Linked DNA regions of Homo sapiens: all the other regions are linked to region 1. The links are contacts of gene promoters, found by promoter capture Hi-C in human tissues and cell types (Jung and others, 2019). All regions are on one chromosome and are shown on one strand. The core of a region is centred on a gene start or on the middle of the fragment in contact, and the rest is flanking DNA. Distances in the headings are between cores, read along the strand shown.

Region 1 (4,534 bases), core at 872-3,371:
ATTATTATTACGTTCCATACTTAGTTGTGTTTCAACTTCAATCTGTTTCACCAAAGCAAAGATACAGGTGATAGAAGATCATCGATGTTAAAGGAAATCGTCGTGACAACAAATTTTTCTTATTCACCAGCATGGTTCTCAAACACTTGGTTAGGAGCAATAAATTCTCATGTAAAGAAGGTATATAGAAAGATCAATATCTCCTTTTAAACAGTTTAACACATTTATTCCTAATGCATTACTACTCACTAACATGCTGAATACTGCTATGTAATGTTTTAAACATAACATATATTTAAGAGTACATGCTAAGATCATGAGTGGCAAAAATGATCAGTTGATATTTAGTTATAGATGATATGTATCAGATTATATGTAGCTGTATTAGGAGAAATTCCTGAAAGATGGATCTGGTTTCTTAATAATGCATAGGAGGCATCTGTGCACATCATTTTAAAGCATCTTCAATTTATGATAATTTAATCAAAAATTTTTTTATGTTTCTTGAGGAAATGTACCTTACAAACATTCCTAAGTGAAAAACAAAACAAAACAAAAAATATAAGTAGAAGACATATGCTTTTCGATATATGCAGATGTGTCTGTGTGTGCCTAAAATTATAAATATTTCACTGGAGCCTAAGTAAAGAATTTACTAATGTGTAAGACTGTAAAAATCAGATATTTATATAATGATATGAGCATTTCGTTCACTGTTATAAAGGCTTGGTAAAGTGGAAAACATATGTAAAGGAAAGGAGATCTGGTGGTTTCTAAATGACATAAATTGATTGTTTAAAAATTTTGAATAATTGCAGACAATAATGAAATGCTTATTCCTTTTAAAAATAAATTGTTAGTTATTTTATTTGGTCAATATAAATGTTCACATTACATTGAAATTTAAATTCTTTGAAATCAAAAATTATAGTAAGTAGGCATACTGCTGATAATTACAATATTAAGAATTTGAAAAAAGAATATATTAATGCATATAATTTTACTTAATATTGTAACTACATCTAAAACATAAATATATATTACTAAATTTTCAAATATTTTATCTAAATAATGTCTTTCTTACAGATATATTAATTCAACAAATGAATTAATAGAGCTAAAATATAAATTGACATAATCTAAAGAAAACCTTTGCCACTCTATTTAGGTATTTTTTGTTGCTAAATATTTTATGTTTTTATATTTAATAGATTTATTAAATCCCTTTGGTAAACTTATTTTGAAATATTTTATTATAATTAGTTATTCAATTAAAATTGCATGTACCAAATTAGAATTGAAACAATATAAAATGTCTTTTACAGTATGCATTTTCCTAATTTATACTTTTCTTAATTTATACTTTCATATTTGAGAAATTACCTTTTGTGTTATGTATAAATGTTATAATACATATAGGTAAATTAATATGCCTGTACAATTTTAGGCATATATGTGTTTTTATTCATAGCAATGCTAATATTTTAATTTTTTTGGAATTATAATATACTTAAAATTTTTCATATTTATTCTGTATATATTTTTTCTCATATACTTAATGATGACAACTCTATTGTTCATATTACCTGATATACATGGTAAATACATGATAAATAAAAAATAAAACCCTGAACAAAGAAAAAAGTGCAAAGAAAGACATGCAAAGAAAGGTTGATTCATTTATTCTAAGAAACTTGAGAAGTTTTAAATATCCTAACATAGGTGTAACTTCCCCCCAACACCAACAATCTGTATTACAGAGATGGAGAACTGTTCTCACAAATACGTGTTTTGAGAAAGTTCAGTACAAGTACACATCATGGTTTTAAAATTTTTAGAATATTTTCCTTATTTCCTATGTAAATATTTTCCTTAATATTTTTAGAATATTTTCCTAGCAACATTTTGTCATGTACTTTTTGACCTATTGACTCATTAAAGATGATGCATGTAGTTTATAATATGCCTGATTATCACAGTCTTACCTTTGTAACTTCAACTTCTAGAAGTTCTGTGAAAACTGAACAGCAAACTTCGTGTTGGACACATAAGGAAGAGTAGGAAAAACTTTCTTCTTTTTGCTTCACAGTCTTCTCAGCAAACTCTCGATGTGCCCCATTGCCCAGAGTTACAGACGCTTGTGCTTTTAGTACCACAACACTGTCAGTATGTCACTGCTTACTCAATGCTATTTTGGGTTCTCTGAGTAGAGTCATAAACACTGAGCCTTTTGTGCAAAATATCATAAGGGCACTCTGACGCTCGTTCATAGTCTGGAATTAAAATGCAGACAGCTACGCAAGTAGTATGAGCTGATTATCTTTGTTTTTTTTTTTTTTCCCCTAACAACAAGCAAAAACAAAATAAAGTACTTATTGGCCTGAGTTGATAAAGGGAGAATTCAACTTACATACAAGAATTTTGCAAGTAGAGCGGACGTGCCCTCTGTTTGGGGATTAGCTGATGAAACAAATGATCAATTTAAAGCAGACCCAAAACTTACTGAAAAGAGAAATGATTTTCCACTGTGTGTCTATGCCTCATGGCTGTTTCTTAATTCGGTCATTTCTCCTCAGAAATCAAGTAAAGACATAATGAGAGAGAAATGTCTAAACTTTAATAAGTCCTTTTCTTTTCCTTGGTTTATTATTATGTAAAATCTTTTATTTTATTCATGGTTATAATTAGATTTTGATATAAGCTATTATTATTTAACATAAAATACATATGTATTTTCTATGCTGTTTACTCAAGCTGTTATTTACTTAAAAACCATTTTTGAACCAAACTAGAGAAACATTAAAATATTAAAAGTTTCTTAAATTATACCTATATAATAAGAAAGTCTATGTGGGGCAGGATTATTCAAGCATCCTGTTAATTCTGATAGATATTTTGGTCACTATCCTCTTAGCTTTTGAGGAAAGAAATGGCAAAAGCTATATGGGCAGTAAAGTAGGACACTCAAGCACACACATATACACACATGCACATGTGCACACATGCATACACATACATGTGCACACACATACATATGCACACACACGCACAAATGCACATCCTATGAGGTTGTGAATATTAGGAGGAATCAATAATTTATGAACAAATCTTGAAGAGATGAACCTGGGAGAATAGATCTGTGGATAGCAGGAACAGTATAATGTGGAAATATTTTATTTTTTCAGGTAGAAAAAAGCATTCAGCTAGAAAAAAACACTTCTAAGTGTTTCAAGATGTTAGTAAATAGGGAAAAAATAAATTTTACAAAGAACCTCTGAAGTATTCTTATACATTTCCCCCTTCATATTTTTTACAGTATCAAAAAAGGTGGAGATACCTGTTTAAAATATTTATTTACATAATTCACTGTTCTGTCTATGACCTAGTCTAGGATTTCTGTAAGAATCTAACATTTTATGAGATGCCAATTTATATCTTGATGTTTATAAAATATCCAGTTGCACTTAGGATTGAAACCACAGTTTAGAGCCTCAGTGTACCTGTAAACATGATGTCCCAAAGGCTTATTTTAGAGCCTAAGGGAGCAAAGGTGGGTCACAATTTGCTGCCCTGATTATTACAGTACCAATAAAGAGCAATGGCAACTATAGAAACCACAGTGAGACAGGATTAAATTTTCTAAAGAAGGTACAGTGTGAAACTACATGTTTTATGTAGAATATCATTAACAGCAAACTGATTTTATTAAATAGATAATCTATTATCAAACACGTACAGGAACTAGTTGCTGTAAATTGCTTAAGAAATGCATGCCCTTTCTGGAAGAGGATATAAGATGAACAGCCGATAGCCAAGGATCCAGCAAGATTCATCCGCTATGCCACAACCAAGAATGAAGACTTGGAAGTACTTAGGGGACTGGTCATCAGATAAGCTTAGTGATTACTTCTTTTTTTTTTTTTTTTTTTTTGAGATGGAATCTCTCTCTGTCGCCCAGGCTGGAGTGCAGTGGCGCAATCTCGGCTCACTGCAAGCTCCACCTCCCGGGTTCACGCCATTCTCCTGCCTCAGCCTCCCGAGTAGCTGGGACTACAGGCGCCCGCCACCACGCCCTGCTAATTTTTTTGTATTTTTAGTAGAGACGGGGTTTCACCATGTTAGCCAGGATGGTCTCGATCTCCTGACTCGTGATCCGCCCGCCTTGGCCTCCCAAAGTGCTGGGATTACAGGCTTGAGCCACCGTACCCGGCCCAGCTTAATGATTACTTCTACGTCATTTTCTTTATAACAAGAGAAATATATCTGACTAATTTTTCATATATGGGGGGGTAATACATAGTAAATGGAACATGACTGTGTAAGAACAGAAGCTCAAAATTAAATACACTACTATCCATATGTAAGTCAGAGTTATCATACTCAGAGTTATCTGAGGTCCCCACAGCAGTAAACATGTGGCAGGATGGACAATTCCCGAAACACAAGTGATGTTTTATAGCTGCACAGTGACATTCTGGTCTATTTTCACATGCAGTCTGGGGGAATTTCACAGTTATCACCTGCCAGCAGGCTA
Region 2 (4,534 bases), core at 772-3,271, 86 kb after region 1:
GCCAAGCTTCCCTTTTCATGGACAGAGGACATGCCAATATCCATGGCATAAATGAGGTTTAGGGAAATCGAAGGCTACTGCCAGGTGGGGGAAAGGCAGTGCATGGGTAAGAGCTGATAATCCTACCGACTAGGGCCCCTGTTAGCATGGGTGAAAGCCACACTGGCAACCATGGGAGTCACCCTGTCCAGGTCGCTGGGACTCGGGGATATAAAGTCAAAAGAAGTAACGAGGACACTTTTTCCTTCTCTCCCTCTCAATCCCCAGGTATTTTCTAGGAAGAGAAAGGAATGAGGGATATCTGGCTCCCTCCTTTCTAGATGAGTAGCCATTCATCTTCAGTCTTTCCCCTTTTCAAATGCATCCTTAACCCTGAAGCTCCTTTGAAAAAAAATCCCTTCGTTTTTCCTTTTTCCTTCTCTGTCCTGTCTTCACATATGGGTAATTGTGTGCCCAAACTACAGGATACTTCCCTTAGATGCATTTTCCAAACTGAGAAAAGTTAATTTCCCAAACCTTAAACTGGTTGGCTTAGAAATGAGATCAGTGTAAGGGAACCCAGAAGCTTGACATGCTGGAAAAAGGGTAAAAGTTTTTGTTACCAGTTGGACTTTGGACCTCCCTCTCCTTATGCAAAGCAGTAAAAGGAATGATAAAGATAATTGTTTATTTTATCTGTAAATATATATATATATATATAATATATATTTTTTGAGATGAAGTCTTAGTCTGTCACCCAGGTTGGAGTATAGTGAAACCTCCACTTCCTTGGTTCAAGCAATTCTCCTGCCTCAGCCTCCTGAGTAGCTGGAATTACAGGTGCATGCCACCACCTCTGCTAATTTTTGTATTTTTAGTAGAGATGGCGTTTCACCTTGTTGGCCAGGCTGGTCTTGAACTCCTGACCTCAAGTGATCCACCCGCCTTGGCATCCCAAAGTGCTGAGATTACAGGCATGAACCATCACACCTGGCCCTAAAATTCTGATTAATGAAAAATAATCTATGAGTTTGGTATTAAGCTTTAGCCAATCTGGTGTGCTTTGTGTCTCTTAATTGAGGCTTGTTGGGTTCACCTGCTAGGTCATGTTTGATAAAGTTCAAAGCCAGCAATATTGAATGCTTGGAATGACTAAAGTCAGGTAATAAGGGATTTAAAAGGAATTTCTTAAACAGTGTCCAGCTTATTAAAAGTGGATATCCAAGTTATATCTATATTTAAAAGGCCTTTGTGTTTTTCTCTTCTTGGATCTTTTTTTTTTTCTGAAAAAGGTTTTTTCTCAGTCAACTGAATTACTTTTCTCCACCTAGTATTGTCACTATTAATGCATGCATGTGAGGCTTAAAGATAATTTCTGATGGCCTGGGGCTCCTTGGGAAAAACAGAAAAGGCTCCATGGATTCCATATGGGTGAAATCTCTGTTTTTCTTGTGCAACCCCAGGAATTAGAGGCAAAGAGGTCCTTCGCAAAAGCTGTTTTTGTCTTACAGCTATACCTGTTTATTAGGCCCTAGAAACTGCATGCTTTCCTAGCCCTGCTCTTAAAGGGTCCCACCTGGAGGCCAATAATCCAATTAGGAGATTGGCAAAGGAAAAATCTTACAGCTACTGGATCTTCTTCTGTTTGTCCATGTAGTCATATATGTGTTGTGTGTACCTATAAAAAAGAGCTTGAATTAATTGGCTTAAAGAAAAATAAGCACATTGATTAAATTTTTTTGAAGGAAAAGTAAAAGCTTTAATGGCTTTAAGTTCATGTGACCATAATATTTGAAAAATAAAAACAGTCTTAAAGATTATTGGTAAAATGCAGATGCCATTAAAATGTAAATAGATGGTCTAAATTATGCAAGTCAGATACTAGGTTTGCTAAATGTTTTAAGGTTGTAAATTGCTTCTTTGGCCTTTGAAAACTGTTCAACTTGCTTGCTTTACAACTTGGTAAGACCTGGGGACATACTGGAATTAACGACACCCTTCACTATGGTGGAAGGTGTTAAACTTTATCAGTGCCTAGTGCATAATTGAAACAACTTACCAGATTTTACATTAAAGTTAAAAATTGCTGAAAGTTACCATTAAAACATGTAATTGAGTCCACTGAAAACAGATTTACATGCAAGGTAGGTAAGGACAGTAAACTGTGTTTTTAGTAAAAAGATATAAGAAGGCATGGAAATGTAAATTTTTGCCTAGTGGTAAAATATTGTTTTAAATTAGATAAAATAAAGCTAAAGGTTTAAACAAGTTGTAGAAAGTTTCTAAAAATCAATCATGCAAAAGAATTCTGTGTGTGAACATTCATTAAATTCAAAAGAGTATAATATATGATTTTTCTATAAATTGAGCATTGGAATAAAAGCACAGGACTATTCCCTTAAGGCACAATTCTGCTTTTTAGCAAAATTTGTCAAGGGTTATAAAAGGTTTACAAGACTCTTACTTCATGGTCAAAATGGTTAAGATTGGATAGAATTGTCTGTAAGTTTTCATTTGAAAATTGGGGTTGATATTAATAGTAAACTAATATAAGGATAACATTTGGCTTTCTCTCTCTTGTACAAGATTTTCATGTAATAGTGAAGGGTAATGAAAGATTACCATTTGCCCTGCAGATAGACTGCCAAGGAAAATAAAGAGAAGACAGGAGACAAATTCCTCCCTCTTAATGAGTAAAGATTTTTGCCTTTTTAAAAATTTTTGAGTCATCATTTTGACAAAATAAATAACTTATGGTAATCTGTAATTGTATCTCATAATGTCAAGTGTTTAAAGCTCTAACATATTTAACAGGCTTCTCAAAATCAAACTTCAGTTTCAAAATTGTCTTTCCTGGACCCTATCTTTTGGATGCTACACGGGGCCCCTGGAGCATCCAGAAGGAGTTAAACTGTATTATTAGACATGTTTAGATATGTGGGATTGCCAAAATGATGTTTAATCTTCTTCATGTTATATTTTAAGGAATAATATTAATATATGTTCCAAAATTGCATGGGATTTCTAGAAATTCTAATGTCTGAGTATATGCTGTCAATCATAATTAAGGTTATGTTAAAGTATTGTAAACCATGGAGATAAACAAAATTATTTGTCAATTGTGTTTTTAACTGTAACTACCCTGGACATTTTGTCATTTGGGGACAATTCGTGTCTTGTTTTGATCCTCTTCAAAAGATGGTTTATAATCAGCTATAGAACTTTGACAGGTGTTCTCAATGTGGATTTCTGATAATTTTGAGGATTGTGAGGTTGGAATAAAATTAAAACATACAGGACTCATGAAGAGATGAAATGTTAATGAATATCAAGCAAAACAAGAGTTAATGGAATGGACTGAAGTAATAGAAAACTCAAGTAATCTTTTTTTTTAAATGTTTTGCTTGAAATATTGCTGATCCGTGTTTTGTTTTTTAGAGTCAAGGAAGCTTTTATTTTTAGCCACTTATAGTCTTTAATAATTGAGTAAGGTATATTCCTGTGAACTGAAGCATGTTTGTTTCTCTCTGCCTGATTCCTCTAGAATTTGGAAACTATCTGTTAGTATTCTCGACTTATGGAAATATGGCTATTTGCATCAGTGCAATAAGAATACATTTTCTTTTGCAACAGGAAGCAATTAGAGATCCAAGGCTTCGAATAGAAGAGTAGCTTCCCTTTCAGGAATCAGTCTCGACTTGCATAGCTGATAAAAACCCCTTGGGAAAACTGGCCTCATACTTTGTCCACACAATCCCTTTACAAGTTCCCTAACCTGTGATGAGTAAAGAATGTCACTTTCTAACAGGTCCAGGAACCCCATATTCTTGGGACCTGAAGAAGAGAGGAATTCACGCAACTCACAGATATTTGAGGGTACAAACCCATGCCTGTGTTTGGCTTTAAAAAGTCCTATCTGAGATTCCTTGTGGAACAGAGTTCCATCAAAGCCAATTTTAAAAGCCTTTGTAAAAATAATTATTCTTGCTGTACTTTAGGTGAATAATCAGGCCTAATAGAAGACCATTTATTTTGCAAACAACTCAGTCCTATCATGATTTGCTTTTAACAAAAATGAGGACTGGAGAGAGATAAATTATGTTTCAAAGCTTATCATATTTGTCATTAAATTATAGCCCCATTAGTTGTTTTTAAGTTTTTTGCCTACATTTTGGCATAACCCTGCTTATTCCTATAAACCAACCAGTGATTTCCAGCTACAGCTCAGAAGATACAAAAGGGATGCGTACTGCAAAAATCTGGATTAGTATTCTAGTTCTGGGCAATTATCCTGCAAATCCTGCCAGGTGATGGGAGTAAATAGGGTGCCCATAACCCAGAGGTTTCTTTTTTGGGAAAATAAAACCAAGGGAGCTAATCAAAGCCAAGCCCCATGTGCCCAAATCTTAGCAAGCGTAACTATAGCCACAAGTTATCTAAGCATGCCCATAGCCCTGGGATTTTGGGGCTGTCCTTACCCCACCCTCCTTTTGTTTCTTTTTAACACATGTCTTCTAATAATCTGGTTTGGCTCTTCTTGCCTTCAGGCTATCAA
Region 3 (4,534 bases), core at 1,324-3,823, 71 kb before region 1:
AAAAATTCCATGCTCAATATATTCAAACCAAGCAATATTTATTGAGTGCATTGTATTTGCCATGGGCTGTAATAAGTGATGAGAAAAAGCAGTAAAAAGATAAAGTAAAATAAGGGTATACGGAGAGCTTGCAAGAGTCCAGGAACCATTTAAAGTTTTGTATTAACTCATTTAATTTTGATCAATATATGGATTATTATCCCCCCAATTTTACGGATAAAAAATTGATAAACCATTTAGTTTCAAAAATTACAGTTAAATTACTTGTGTAAGGTTATAGCTGCAGTGCTATAACAAAAAAAATTCTGTGAACCACTGAAATTTAGGGCGTAGCTTTTAAAAACAAATAATTAGAATCTAAATATATTTTAAAGTAAAATAGTTATAATAAAATCTAAATAAAGTTTTTATATAAACATTGAATTGAGAAGATTTTCTAAGTGAGCCAAGAAATCCAAAAAACATAATGAGAGAAAATTGTGGTTAAAACATTTAAATCTTTCAAATTGATATAAAAAAGACATTTCAGAAAAAAGTATGAAGTAGGAATTCACAGGAGAGAAAATTCGATTTATCTTATAGCAGACTTTCTCACTGCTGTCACTATTAATATTTTATACTGGATAATTCTTAGTTTTGGGAGATTCTCCTGTGCATTGTAGGATGCTTAGTGGCATCCCTGACTTCTATTCCCCGAATGTCTGCAGCATCCCTCCCATCCCAGTGTGTCAATCCAAACTGTATTCAGACATTGTCAATGTGCCCTGGTTGAAATTGGGGGCAGAAGTGTGGAGCCAAATGGCCTGTAGTGGAGACACGCCGCGTTATCATAATGTTCACACAGCCTCTCACCACAGGTAAGAAGAATGATGGTTTAGCCCATGCCATTTTTGTCATATGCGATAGAACAGCACCCAGTGATAGCTGAGTGCTGAAAAATAACAATGTAAACCGACTCTAGCAATGGATAATGAAATTTAAACTACACATATCTGTGACCCAATCTGTTAAACTTAAGCTACAGTCTAAGGTATCAGTATTTGAGTAAATGATCCGATTAAATACATTCCAGAGTTATTTGCATTACATCCAAATTATATAAACGACTCAAATGTACAACAAAAAAGAATTGGGGAGAATAAATTACAACTGAACTATGATATTATGTGGATTTATTAAAAATTTGTGAGTCTGGCCAAGCATGGTAACTCACACCTCTAAATCCCAGCGCTTTGGAAGGCCAAGGCAGGAGGATAACTTGAACTCAGGAGTTTGAGAGCAGCCTGAGCAATATAGTGAGACCTCATCTCTACTAAAAATCCAAAAAAATTAGCTGAGTGTAGTAGTGTACATTGTAGTCTCAGCTACTTGGGAGGCTGAGGTGGGAGAATCGCTTGAGCAGGAGGTTGTGGCAGCAGTGAGCTGTGATCGGGCTACTGCACTCCAGCCTGGGCTACAGAGTGAAACCCTGACTCAGATAAAAGAGTCAATGTAACACATTTTTATTGTGAGCTCTAAAACTGGATGACTTGAGTTTGAATCTTGTTTCTCAATTTGAGAAAAATACTTAACCAGAATGCCTCAGTTGGCATTCTGAAAAATGGGTGTGATAGTAGTACCTGCCTTATAGGGTTGTTGTTAAGATTAAACATATACATAAAGCAATTGCATAAATTACATGAAGCAATTACACAAATTGGTTAATATACATAAGGCAATTAAGAGTACTTAGTACATAACTGAACAATGAATGTTAAATATTATTGTTTTGTTGCATCTACTAACCAGACATGTATTTTGTGAACTGAAAAAAGTAAGTTGCAGCTATTATATTGTGTAGGTTTATTGTTTTTAATCTTTCTCTCTCTCAGGCTGTAGTGCAGTGGCAGGATCCCAGCTCACTGCAACCTCCACCTCCTAGGCTCAAGCGATTCTCCTGCCTCAGCCTCCCTAGTAGCTGAAACTACAGGCACATGCCACCAGGACTGGCTAATTTTCGTATTTTTAGTAGAGACAGGCTTTTGCCATGTTGGCAACGGTGATCACAAACTCCTGACCCCAGGTTATCCACCCACCTTGGCCTCCTAAAGTGCTGGAATTACAGGCTTAAGTCATCATACAGGGCCTCTCTTTTTCATAAAAAAAAAAGAAAGCTATAGGAAAGGTGCATACAATTAAAGGGTATAGGAGTGGGATTCTTTAGTTTGTTTTAGTGTTTTTATTTAAAATATATGTACTATTTGCAATGATAATTTGAAAGAACAAAACAAATTAAAAATTAGAGGCCTTGTACTTGTTGAAAGCAAGGGAAAATATTTTTTCTTTCCTTCCTTTTCTCAGAGCATTCATACACACACACACACACACACACACACACACAGAGAAAGAGAGAGAGAGAGGGAAAAAAAAAGCTTTGTATGTAAGTTTTTTCTTTGTCCCTTTGAAGCGTATGGAAATCTTTCAAAAGTTCAACAAGTTTCTTGGAAGCTTTAGGATCCAGGATTGTATTTATCAAGTAATGGTGACCATCTCTTTGAAATGTAATCTTCAAGGAATACAGCATCCCTATATCCTAGATGTGGGGAAGGATAGGAGACTCATTTTAGCAACGATCTTGTTCTAAGTTGTAGAACTACCTCTTGTCATAAAGACATGAAAAGTTAAGTTGTCCTTTGGATAAAACCACTTAGCAAATACAGGCGGTCACTCCAACTACCCAGTGAATATAGAATGAATTCTATGTGACAAATAGTGCTAAGTCCTCATACTTGAATATCTAGATAATATTTAACTTGAGAACATGTATATATTGGATTGCACCTGCTTGACCACATAAAAAGGTGAGATTTCTTTCCATTTTGGCAATCTCTTAGATTTCCTATGATGCAGATCACATTGTGTTTTAATGCTTTCCAGTAATAAAATTTTTCTCTCTGTTCTACCTTTGAGGGGAGGTTTTCTGGGCTGGGATGAGATTTTGCTTAAAATTGAATTTTCCCAACAATAACAGTTACAATTAAGATAGAAATTGTAATTTTCAATTAACTAAAAATTAAAATTTCTAGGATTTATTACACACACACACACACACACACACACATCCATGGCCTTTAAGAAATACAGCAACTATTAGTATTTATCATTTTGAGACTTTTCTCCATTGTGTGACATTTAGGATGAAAATAAATTAATGGAACATTTAAAAATGAAAAGGTATTTCTAAAGATTTCAAGAAGAAATTAACCAGAAAATTTAGGTTCGTATTTGTTATGGTTTCAGCGCATACATCATCACAGAATATCTTTTTGCTTAAATAATTAAATTGTATAATGTAATTCAGTTGTGAATAAACTGACAGAAAATTAATAAGAAATTCATAATGTTTTTATCTTTGTGTTCCTAAACTTTGCTTGAAATTAAGTTAAATTAAACCTTTGGTATTACTGCACAAAATGTATATAAAACTTCACAGCTTCACCTTAAAATAGTAGTTTTATTCACTTAGCTAGCATACTGATAAATAGCATTGTGCTTAATTTGGGAAGCTTTCCAGAAAAGAGACTAAGCACAACGAACTTCATTTGCTGGAAAAAAAAAATTTTTAAATGGAACATCTCTTTCCTATAATCAGTATAATTGCTATGGTGAAAGCTTTTCAAGGTAGTTAGCAAATGCAGCTAGATGATTTTTAAAACAGTTTTATGTAATGCCCTGTTTTCCACCAGTAGGTGGTTTGTTTATATTGCTATTGAAGCTTAAATGGTCAAGCCTAATTATTTTTGGTTCAATATTGATTTCACAGTAGTAAAAAAATGGCAGTTACACATATTTTCCCCAAATAGATCTAAAATGGGCTTAATGATGTAGAATTTTTTAAAATGTTAGAGAAAGAAAAAAAATGAAAATTTGTTATCCAGTGTTATAAAAGCTTGTTCCAACAAGTTTTTCCTTAAAATGAAAAAAAAAAATTGTTCTCAGAAATACACAATGAATAAAAGCTGCATTTAAAATAAACATCTTTGCATTTTCTGACACGAGAAGCCTTGACATTTCCTCTGTTACAGCGGGCATTTATTCCATTGTAACATTTGCCTCCTTTTATGGTTTAGTTAAATGGAACCTTGAAAACCCAGATTCAAGCTCTCCTACAGTGTTTCCATAGAACTGTTCATTGTATCGCAAATAATATGCGGAGATGCCTTCCACTCCACCATATCACCTGCCATCTGCCTGATAAAGTAAGGAAAAGAGAGATATCTGCTCCCTGCCTCAACAAAGAGTGAAGAAAGGAAACAGGATTATTAAAATTCTATGTAAAATCAGCTATAAGAAAAGATGCATCTGAGAATATTTTATATTTGTAATTTTAATACTTTACAATTCTAAATCTATTGACTAAGTAATGGAAATGACTTCGATATTTTATATTGTGTTATATTTATTTCTTTAAGCTTTAATAAATATAATTGTATGAATAATGGATTCATGATTTTAAGGACAATATCCAAGTGGTAAATCAGAAAAATTTACAACC

Evidence for each region. The method cuts DNA at HindIII sites, captures the fragments that hold promoters and counts their contacts. A contact is called where the count stands out against the background at its distance.
Region 2: a fragment that was not itself captured here is called in contact with the fragment with the promoter of CDH19 in region 1 in 2 of the 25 tissues and cell types used here (H1 embryonic stem cells and hippocampus).
Region 3: a fragment that was not itself captured here is called in contact with the fragment with the promoter of CDH19 in region 1 in 2 of the 25 tissues and cell types used here (dorsolateral prefrontal cortex and hippocampus).

Annotation. Positions count from the first base shown.
Region 1 is chr18:66,601,969-66,606,502 of GRCh38, forward strand. It overlaps CDH19 (cadherin 19), which reads right to left and starts at 2,122. Exons shown (of 12, transcript NM_021153.4): 1 at 1,986-2,122. The HindIII fragment of the contact is 13,282 bases long and covers 1-4,424 here.
Region 2 is chr18:66,687,699-66,692,232 of GRCh38, forward strand. No RefSeq gene overlaps it. Among named protein-coding and RNA genes, the nearest start is that of CDH19, 86 kb to the left of the region's middle. The HindIII fragment of the contact is 3,473 bases long and covers 286-3,758 here.
Region 3 is chr18:66,530,141-66,534,674 of GRCh38, forward strand. All of the region lies in intron 8 of CDH19 (cadherin 19), which reads right to left. Among named protein-coding and RNA genes, the nearest start is that of CDH19, 72 kb to the right of the region's middle. The HindIII fragment of the contact is 3,231 bases long and covers 959-4,189 here.